2 separate regions of the Homo sapiens genome follow, and region 1 is linked to region 2. The links are contacts of gene promoters, found by promoter capture Hi-C in blood cells and fetal thymus (Javierre and others, 2016). All regions are on one chromosome and are shown on one strand. Each heading gives the region's core, a stretch centred on a gene start or on the middle of the fragment in contact. The rest is flanking DNA. Distances are from core to core; before and after follow the strand shown.

Region 1 (5,706 bases), core at 1,879-4,378, 92 kb after region 2:
ATGGAGGTGGGAGTGAGGAAGCAGGATTCAAGGAATCAGTGAAATCATCAAAGCTAATGTGACATATGGGAAAATGGGAGTTAAAAATGCAATTTAAAAAAAGGTTGGGAAAACTGGGCAAAACATTCGTTCTGGAGAGGCAGGCACAGTCAAGTTCTGCTTGCCAGCCTCTGGGAAACCACAGGCAGGTACAGGTGGTCTTCAAGGATCTCAAGCTAAAAATCAGATCCTATCCTGGTAGAGTGTACCACCTCTGGCCTTAGGCAATGAACTTCCAGCCAGTGAACCTAATGGTTTCCAAAGGCCAGATGTTCAAAATTTGTCTTTAAACAGGCCCAGCTCATCTTCATGGTTTTAACTGTTATTATAAACTTGTTTCAATTTTGCACCTTGATCCTTAGCCAGATTCTGTGCCTAGGTGCAAAAACAAGTTACACGTCTAGGATCTTTGTGGCTCTGAATAAGGATTGCCAGATTTAGTAGATCCAATACAGGACCTCCAGTTATATTTAATTTCAGATAAGCAATAAATAATTTTTAGTATAAAAATTAACATGCAATATTTGGGACATATTTATAGAAAAACTACTCATTATTTGTCTAAAATTTAAATTTATCTGGGTGCCCTATATTTTATCTGGCAACCTTACCCTGAATAGACATTTCCCAAGAAAGCAGAGCAACAAAACATCTGGCACAAAAGGAAAGTTCTATGATCCTTTTTCCTACTGAGTCAAACTGAAATAACTGACGGATGGATTTGTCTTTCTTAGCATGTGTATTCCCTTTTTACTTCCCAAATGACTGAAGTGGTAAAATAAAAAGCACAAACAATAAAACCATTAAAATGGAAATTTAAAAATCAAGTGAAATAGAAATGGATGGGGACATTTGAATTCCAGAAGCCTAGGCTGATATGGTTTGTTGACCTTGGCATTTGCTTCTGAACTCACTGACACTCTGAAGCCAAAGTAAAACATTATCTGATACAAGAAAGCAGGCAATGAAAGTGTTTTTTTCTGGTCTTTATTCTTAGAGGACTTTATTGTGTGATTCACTATACCAGCGCAGCACATTAGCCAATGTGGTACAAAGGGAGGGCAGGTTCTGGAGCACAGATACCCATGGCACTGGGCCTGAGCCCCACCTACACCATCACTTCACCTTTCTCATCTCATTTCACCATCTGTAATGTGACTTGTAACGTAATGAACACATTACAAATTTAAAATATCGTTACTAGCACTAGGACTGAGAGTATCAGCACCAGCAAATAATAATAATGTGTTCTGTGATGGTTGTATTGAAGACACATAAACATTCTTTAAATGTCTGTTATTATATTAACCCCTGATTTTAAAAGACTAGGATACAATATTAAAATGTGATTCAGTGACAGGCTTTCTTGCAAGGCAGGTCATAAACCCGTCAATCATCCTAGCTAACCACGTGCCTCCTTGGACTTTGTGGGTGAGAAGGAGCACAGGGCTTATTGTGGGGGCTGTCACAGAGCACAGGTATACCAATACATCTTTTCTTTACAACTGCCAATAATTTCCTCAGAGCCTGAAGCCTGAGGATAAATTGTCTTGACCTAAAAGCAAGCCGAAACCAGATGAAAGTATCCCTTCACACCCACGGCAGGGCTACAGGCAGTACTTATCTCAAGGAAATGGCAATGCTTGGCCTCAGTAACAGGAGAAGGAAAGATATGTGTCTGTGGATATCACTGGATTTGCAGACAGGCTAAGGAATGCAAGTGCTTAGTCATGGAGAAATGGCTGCCAGGGAGCTGATAGAATATCAGCGTGACTGTTGCTAGGTTTCTTATCTGTCATCCATGTTTCTATGATTCTCTTTCAAAGGGGAGAGTCAGAGGGTGCCCACCCTGCTCACAGAATCCCTGGAGAAAATATGCTTCATCTTAGAAATAACAATCTGAAAAATGATGATGACAGTGATGATAAAACAGCTAGCATTAGATATTGTGCTGTTTTATATGCCTGCCCTCATTAAATCCTGTGGAAGGTTCTGTTATTACTCCCACTTTACTATGAGAAAATAGATTTGAAAGTGATCCTTTCTTCCAGTAAGTAGCGGGATAAAGACCCCTGGGACTCAGGTGTATTAGTCTGTTCTCATGCTGCTATGAAGAAATACCTGAGACTGGGTAATTTATAAAGAAAACAGGTTTAATTGACTCACAGTTCCACATGACTGGGGAAGCCTCAGGAAACTTACAATCATGGTGGAAGGCACCTCTTCACAAGGTAGCAGGAGAGAGAATGAGTGCCAGTAGGGGAAATGCCATATGCTTATAAAACCATCAGATCTCATGAGAACTCACTCACTTTCATGAGAACAGCATGGGGGAAACCACCCCCATGATTCAGTTACCTCCCATGGGGTCCCTCCCATGACACGTGAGGATTATGGGGATTACAATTCAAGATGAGATTTGGGTGGGAACACAGCCAAACCATATCATCAGGAAAGAAGATTGTTCAGATTTCTGTTCTTATTTGCAAGGCTGGTTTATTTTTGTAGCAGGATGAGCTGTGGACAAAACCCCACAGACACTGAGGTAGTGAAGGAAGTGGCTTTAATCAGCTGGAAGCATCAGCAGACTAACGTCTCAAAATCCAAGCTTCTCGAGTGCACAATTTCTGTCCCTTCACAACACTAAAGATTTTACATGAAAGGGCTGTGATTGATTGAGCAATCTAGGGGGTATGTGACAGAGGCTTCATGTACTGGTAGTCAGAGTGAAACAGAACAGAACAGGAAGTTTCACAATGTCCTTCCATACAATGTCTGGAATCTATGGATAAGATTGGTTGCTAGGTCACGGGTTGAATTTTAACTATCAGGTAAAGTCAGGCAGGCCAAGGCCTGGTTTTGGGTCTGGTTTTGGGTCTGGTGCCTGGTGCCGGGCTGCCTGCTTTTGGTTTCACTTCCTTGTTTCTTCTTAAAACAGGTACTGAGTATAAAACAATATAGAACAATATGGGGGGGTCTCTTTCTCTCTTCTCTCATTTTAACTGATAGAGGTGCAAGATCTGAGGGCCAATTATTCACAAACTTAAATAACTATTAAGTACCTACTATTAGAATAGCATCGAGCTCATCAACACCAGGAATGCAAGGATGGCTGCCACCCACACATGTTTACGATCCAGTTCAGTCTACAAATAAACTGAGGTAGAATATAAATAGAAAAGTACCTACAGAATCTGGGGTCACACTACATCCCTTCTGATGAATGGCCTTTGAGTAGGTGGATTTGCCTATCAAAGGCAGCTAGAGGTATGTGATAGGGGACCTTGCTCCTGATACTTCCCACAAGAGAGGGAGGCTCTAGAGGCCAAGACCAACCCTCAGGACATCAGATATTTGGCTTGGCTGAGAGGTCATTCTGCTGGCTCCTTCGAAGGCATTCCCTGATTCTTCCAGAAGCATGGAGGCCTTCAAACTTTGGGATTCCCAGTTACATCATCCATTGGAGACATTGGCTCTCCTTATTTTCCACAAAAATAATTAGCATCAATTCTTGGACAGAGAACAGAGGAGGAGGTGTGAGGGTAGAGACTGTGACTCACTCTCTGGCCAGGAAGCTTTGCTAACTCACTTTAAAAATTGACAGCCCTGGTCAGTAAGGGTGAGGATGGCTGACTGCAGACGTGGGTGGCATGTCTGTCCTTAGGAAGGCTGTTCCTTAGTTGGAGGTCACAGCCAGGGACCACAACTGAAAGCCTCAGCTCTGAAGGGCAGAGAAGAAGGCCCCCAACAGGGCTTCTGAGCCCAGGTGCCAGATCCAGAGTCAGGGCAACCTGAGGCTTTCTCGGCAGGTACCTCTCCAGTTCTCATGGTTTTCAGAGCCAGTGGCCTGTACAATGGAGATTTCCTCCTTTGCTTTGTGTTCTTCTTGCATTTTTAAACAGCAGTTTCTCAGAACAGATGCTCTCTTCTCTCCTTCCCTATGCCCCTTCTGCACAAACAGCAGATTGCCTGCTTCTGTCATCTTTATAGAGGGAAGGAGAGAAACATGCTAATCATGTTCTTTTTCCGCTTCCTCCTGCTTGCAATTAGCTATGCGAGCCAAGGGCTCTCTCTCCTCTCTTACTCTCTTCCCTGAGGAACAAACCCTCCAAGGAGATTTTCCTGGGCACTTCCCACTAAGCCTGCTTCCCTTAACAGACACCTTGGGTTTTGGCTGTTGTTGTTTTGGATATTTACGTCCTTTGACCTCCTAAGAGCCAGATGTCATGCAGTCACATAACTTCTTGATTTCTAGTTCCCCTGTATATTAAAGACCCAAGAGCATATTGAAATGTATGGAAGCCACCAGCATCAAAATTATTCTCATGCCTCCTTCTCCCAGGGCTGCTGCATCACACAACCACAGGGGCATTAGTCACATAGGGCTGTGTGTCTATCCGATAGTCATGCAACACTGTGCACAGATGTCATGTAAAACAAGCACAACCCCAAGCCATAAAATAAGTTTGTTTTATGACAAAGCACAAGTCATAAAACTTGTGATGAAATGCAACAAAATTCTGTGGCATTTTTTTCTCATGACTGTGTTAATGCTAGTTTTGAAATATCAAACATAAGTTCCCCTCCAACGCTTTTTCGTTTGGTGCAATAAACTCCTGAGTAGCCCACCCATCCAAGTAATCCAGCACTGAGCAAACCCACTAGAAAGCTCCTTTGCAGCTCCCTATTTTGCAGATGCACCATGTAGCAGACAGCTAGAATGGGCCCTTTTAATCCTGAGAAGGAAAAGACTAGAACATTGAGACTTGCCCAAGCATGAGTCACCATAGAACAGTATCTGAGAGAATTTGAAATCAAACAGGCTGGATTCAAACACTTTCCAGACCTTGAGGAGTGGTTCAATGATGCCATGCATAATGATAATGGGGATTCTCTGCCTCCTATAGGTTCTTAATTTATATCGTTTATATATATTCAGACCTATATTTCAGGCTGCTGTGAGGAACAGTGGCCTGGCAGGACTCCTTCTCCTTCCTAGCAAGGTAGAAAGGTAGGGCTATGGCAGGGATCCGTGTCACAGTGGAGAGGCAGCAGTTGGAGTCTAAACAGGAAAATAGAAACTATACAAGTACAAAAGTAGAGAAGATTTAATGCAGGAAATAGATTACACAGATATTTCAGTTTGCATTCCCCAGGAGATCCAGAGAGAAGGATTCGAGTGCAAGTATTTTTGCAGGGAGGTGATGCAAAAATTTATAATAAATGTGCATACATATATATTGCATATTTTATTTTTTTCTTGGAGAACTGGTTGTTAAGCCTTTACCAGCACACATTTGGTGAAATGCATTAATTTAAAGATGATTCTTTCCTACAGGTTATACCATATCAGGACCCTGAAGATGTCATCTGATCCAGCTACCTTTACAATTAGGAAAGTATTGTCTATAGTCTGAGTTATATTGCAACATTTCTTTCCATTCAATTCATCACACGTTTAATGATCATTTACTGTGTATTAGAAAGGTGTCATTAAATCACCGAGTCTTAGAGCTTTAAGAAATCTTTGAGACATTTAAGTTTAAACTTCTCGTTTTCTTAATGGAGATAAAAGTCATATAACATAAAATTCACCATTTAACCATTTTAAAGTGTATTAATACAATTAAGTGGTTTTTAGTCTATTCATAATATTGTCAACCATCA
Region 2 (5,486 bases), core at 2,600-5,099:
ACCTCGAAAATTACTTATTTATCCCATTTTGTCATTTCACAGATGAGAAAATTGAGATCCAAGCAAGTAAAGCAACCTGTCAAGTCATGCATATAGGAAATGCAGAGATTGGATGAGAACAGCAGTGTTCTGACTCCCAATCTGGTCTTTTTCTACTCCACCAAGCCACATGAGAGGGCACCTTTTGCACGTTAGTGCAGAACAACTCAGCTTCGATTTGTCCCTAAGGTTAAGTGTCCAAACATGTCTCTGTTGTTTCACAAGCTCTCAGTCTAACAAAAGGACCTGAATGGCTTTGGTTATTGGTGGTAGATTTTTTGTTATTCTTGCTGTTGTGTGTTTTGCTTTTGGAAAGTGGAGAGAAATTTAACTAAGACCTAAGTAAAAGTATCATTATTACTTGACAAACTAACGGTCATACAGGTTTTAAAGTTTAGAGTGAAAGAAAAATAGCAGTTGGATCAATCAGGCACCACACACACACATGCACACACGCACGCACACACGCACGCACACACACATGCGCGCGCACACACGCGTGCATGCACACACACACGCACACCCATGGTGATATATAGTGTTCTGTTTCTCTGTGTGAAGGTGAGTGGCTCACTGTTACAATGTTTGAGGAGAGAGAACCCCAAGTGTGCTCAGCCCTGGGCAGGAGGAGAATGTGTCACTTTAAGTCCTTTCCTCTTTAGCTGAGTCATGGTACAACCACGATGGTCTCCAAAAAAAGTGTCTCCAGCCCTCCACAACCAGGGAAAAGGTCACCAATAACACAGAGCTCAAGCAGTTGGGGAAGTGGGTGAAAGGGAGAATAAAATGTCCACAATATAACTGAACTCTCTTTGCACGTTCATCTAAGTTGAAAACTTTTATCCCGAGACAAACTTTCCCCTGCATTGAGCTGTGTTGAATACAGCTGCATTCAGTGAAGCTAAATCTGCCATTTCTGCCATTCGTGAAGATGAATATCAATACATTAAACTCTACACTCTTTTATTTTATAAGAATTTAGAATTTAGAATATCTTCACTCAGTGTGTGCCCAACTCTAAAGCTGTGAGGAATAATATCTGCTCTGATAGATCCTTGGTATAGTATTAAGCAAGAATAATGACACAAATTATAGGAGACTCATTCTGTTCTCTGTATTAACAAAATACAGTACTCTTCAGTGTTAATATATGACCCTTAAAAAATATATAACTGACACTGATTGACTCCTACTACTTGCCAAACATTATGTTAAGTGTTTTATGCCGATAGTTGTATTTAATTCTCACAACTCCATTATGTTGACGCAATTTTACATTTGGGGACACTGAGATTTAGAGCAGTTAAGTACCTGCCCCGAGGCCCATAAACAGTAGGCAACGAAGCTGAAATTCAAACCAAAAGTAGTACAACAACAGAGACTGTGCTCTACTCACTCTAATTTGACTCACATCCCAGCACACAGATCTACAGGACACACATCCTAACATAATTTAAAATGTGTATAAGAAATTGTAATTTAGTTATGTGTACAGTTTTGGCAGAAATTAACGAATAAAATACTGTGTGTCTCAAATTCTGGATCACTTCAAACTGGAATTCCCCCAATGATATCACAAAAGAGCCTCTGATGACCCCCAAATAATCACACACTGGAAGTTTCCACAAATGCCAACTCACTCTTTGGCGGTGAGTGAGTAAAGATAGATTGAGTGGTAGTGACTTCGATGAAACTAGTCGATGGCTTTTATTCTTCGGGTAGCTAAAATTCATTTCCCCCAGTATCCAAGAAATATTTTCACAGCAATGACTTAACAACTTAAATGGAAATATTGAATACACTTTTTTCTTTAAAAGAAAACTGCATATCCTCAGCTTCTTAATCTCAAGCCATAGTCATGCTAGCAGTGGGGCTGTTTTCTGAGCCACTGGCCTACCCACCTTGTGCTTTCCTTGTCTTTAATTTAATTGCCTTCCTTGTCTTTAACAAATGACTCTGCTGTCATTTGTTTCCTATTGTGTTGCATCTGATGCTTTTACTCAGTAAACAAAACTAGAATGTGTTCTGTGATGTTGTTTTAGTTGAGCACAAAATTCAATACATTATCAAGAGAAATGAAACTGAAAGGAGCAAGTCAAGATCGCAGACCTGCGTTTTCTTCTGGGGCCACAGTTGCTGATAAATGATGCAATAATGCCCTCGACAATCTATTCCAGCTACCTCTTGATCTGAAGATCTATGGAAATGGAGTAGTTAGGGGAGGTGGTAGGGTAGCAGTAAAACACTTTCAATTGTTATTAGAATAATTTTGCATCCGCAAGCTGGCAAACGCTATTCACGTCTCTTTACATTGCTCGTTTTATGATGCTCCTAAAGAAAATCCTTGAAAAAAGGAGAAGAAAAAAGAGGTCTGACTAATGGAACAAAAGCTACATCACAGTCTAGTTCTGTCATGTTTTCTCATCCTTAGTAAGATGATGGTTCAATTTTGAATAAAGATTAATTACTTGAATGTGGTTAAAGCATAGTCTAGCCAAATTAATTTTTAAAATGAGAGTCCAGCTATTTTTATCTTATTCTTCACATCCCAGGTGATTTCAATCAGTAAATTTCATAGCAGTGAATATTTTTAAAAAGTATGCTTGGCCATTGGCTTTTACCCATTCGGCATCTCTCTGAATTAAAGTATTAATATTGGGAAACATAACGAGTCTCTCGGAGTGACCTTGCTGACCTATTTTTGACAACATGATTTCGGCTCCCTCATGGCTTGCGATGATAGGTGCTGGTAACATTATCCTTTATGACTAATCTAATTGAAGCAAGTTAGACTTTTAAAAACTAGTTGTGTATGTTAGCTTGACTAGCTTGCTACGCCCTATTTGGTGCTTGGAAAACCAGGCACTGGGTGAATGCTTTTCAATTGCGTCTGTAACTTAGTTTTTCCCTCCTACTGACATAAATGATCCATCTTAATCCTCCCATTCTAGCTGCATATTGTTTTCCAAAACTAAAGCTATATGCCCCAAAACCTTTGCCTTCTATCATGTGGCAGATGACATCTTCCACTGACAGTGAATAATAAATTTACACTCAACCCGCATGGGGAACCTGAACACATAAGCTCCCCACATGCAGAACTATTTCCAAGTGACATTCCCTTCTCTCTTTCCCTTCTACTTCAGTGATGCAGAATAACCATCATATAACAATTAACAATCCTCCTTTAGGGGGATGCTGAATGGAAAGAAAAGAACAGGAGAAGGGCACCTCAATCCAGGTAACGTATTAACAAAAACCCCAGAGCAAACCACAGTCCTTAACAGACACCCTGATAAGGCTCCCAGGACACAGTACTGAGGAAGAGCAAATTCTCCAGTGGGACACATCTCACACGCCAGTGGCTCCTGGTTCTCCCAGCCACATGATCTGTGCCAAAATTCAGATTTAACGCAGTGTCCTCTTTAGTCCCAATGTAATTCTATTTCTAGTTTTGCCAGCCTTAGTTCTGCAAAGCATCAGTATTCTCTTACCAAAAAAAAGTATTAGCTGAAATTCTGGGCCATCTATCACTTATACCCTTTGGTTAAGGACTACTCCCAGTAAGGTATTTTCTGTTGAAGATGCCCACAGCAGTATCCACCCAGGAACCTTGAAAAGGAAGCAGAAATGATTGCATGGGTAACTTACCAGCTCCTGAGGTCTGAATGGCTGCAGCAGCCCCACTCCTTTACCTGATCCCTGCTCTCTCTGTCTCTCTCCCTCTCTCTCTCCCTCTTTCTCTTGTGTACAGATTGCAGGGAACTTAAAGAACTCGCAGGGACAGTGTTTCGAATGACTTAAGAAAGAGAACAGGAACAATACTTCGTTCTCTTTTTCTCAGATGAGTACCTTCGGGAAGAAGGAAGGAAGGGAGGGGAGAGGGAGGAAGTCAACAACCCTTTGCTTTCCTGAAAAAAAATAAGGAAACAGAAGATAGACATCTCATTTTCTCTTAAACAAAATGTTGGAAGGGGCAAAAAAAAAAAATCTTTGAAAAAAGGAATTCCTCAAATATGTTCTCTGCCCTGGGAGCTTTAAAGAGATGAAACGCCTTAGTGGCCTGTCCTGTCCAAACAAACGGTGTTCCAGACAGGCAGGCTCTCCTGAGCCTGCAGCCTCTGGTATCTGGTTTGCAGAACTGACACAGCCGAAAGGGAACAAATCATGTCATGTCGACTTAGAGCAAGGGAGAGCTTGGCCTGTTGTGCTAACCAAGGTAAACCTGCAGCCTGTAAGACAGTGTCGGGGCTGGGCAGCCAGGACTCCTGGCTTTTCTTAGGCCCTTTGAAACACCAGCATTGCTGCAATTCCTCGCTGACTCTAGATCCTTAGAGTTTTTCCAGGATCAAATAGCAGATTTATGCCCACCGAACTTTATACAGTGGACCCAATCCAGCTTCCATCACTGATGGATGAAAAAGGAAAAGAAGCAACTAACCACAACTGCTGCCGGCCATGGTTATCTCAGATCTGTTGTTTATATTATTCTATCCTCTACATTCCTAAGGCGTCTTGGATTTAATCACCTCTGGAAAACTGGAAGGAGATTTCTAATTTGTTTTCAAAATACTGTGAAGCAGCATAGGGTTTAGATAAATCAGCCATGGTGTTCGAAAAAAGATAGGGGAGGCAGGAGCAGTTAAAATGGAGGGAGTAACCTTTATCAAGGTAGAAGACTTGGGGCTTCAGCAGGCAGGCATGAGCTTGCTTAGGCTAGTTGCACTTAGGAATAAGCTTGGTTTTAACTTCTCTGATTTGTGTTATGTCTCTTGTGTCCCTTATTCATCTGGTTAGGACCATTTTCACTGTGAACAGGAACCAGCAGTTATGTAGACCTTTGTGGCAGCAAAAGAAAAACCAGCCTTACACTACTTCCTCATTTCACCCAACTGTGAAAAAAATGGGGTGGACAGATACACCTGATTGCAAAGAGTCATGAAAGTGAGTTCAGGGGAAGAATGATTCTGATTCAGTGACCCTGTAAGATTTTGATTGAGTCCTTATTGGCCTATAGGATTATGTTTTTATTCTGACAGATATTTTTCTATCATCTATCTGTCTATCTATCATCTATCTATCTATCTATCTATCTATCATCTATCTATCTAATCTATCCATATATCTATCTATCTCCCTGTCTATCTAGTTATCTGAATATGTGTGCATGTATCAGAGAGAGACATGAAGATTTTGTTACTCGGTAGGTGTGCACAAGCCAGAGCAGAGTCCCATTCCTTGCATCCGCCACAGCACCAACACTGGCACAACCCATGGCACTGAGTTCTGGCCTGGGTGACCCAGCCTCACCAACAGTGGGGAACACGGATGACCAGAGACAGTCTCTTTGGTTCGCTTAGAGCCACACGCCAACACGTTCCTGTCTCCTGATCCCGGCTCTCGGGCTCTTTGCCCTCTGCTGGCCTTCCTCTACATCCTGCCTTTGT

Evidence for each region. Contacts are between HindIII fragments. The CHiCAGO score rates a contact against its expected background, and 5 or more counts as called.
Region 1: a contact is called between a fragment that was not itself captured here and the fragment with the promoter of ZNF366 in region 2, in 2 of 17 cell types (M2 macrophages and M1 macrophages). The highest score is 6.9, in M2 macrophages.

What each region holds. Positions count from the first base shown.
Region 1 is chr5:72,596,076-72,601,781 of GRCh38, forward strand. All of the region lies in intron 7 of TNPO1-DT (TNPO1 divergent transcript), which reads right to left. Among named protein-coding and RNA genes, the nearest start is that of ZNF366, 92 kb to the left of the region's middle. RefSeq lists an enhancer at 2,254-2,353. The HindIII fragment of the contact is 967 bases long and covers 2,646-3,612 here.
Region 2 is chr5:72,503,561-72,509,046 of GRCh38, forward strand. ZNF366 (zinc finger protein 366) reads right to left here and starts at 3,850. Exons shown (of 5, transcript NM_152625.3): 1 at 3,691-3,850. The HindIII fragment of the contact is 5,585 bases long and covers 1-4,774 here.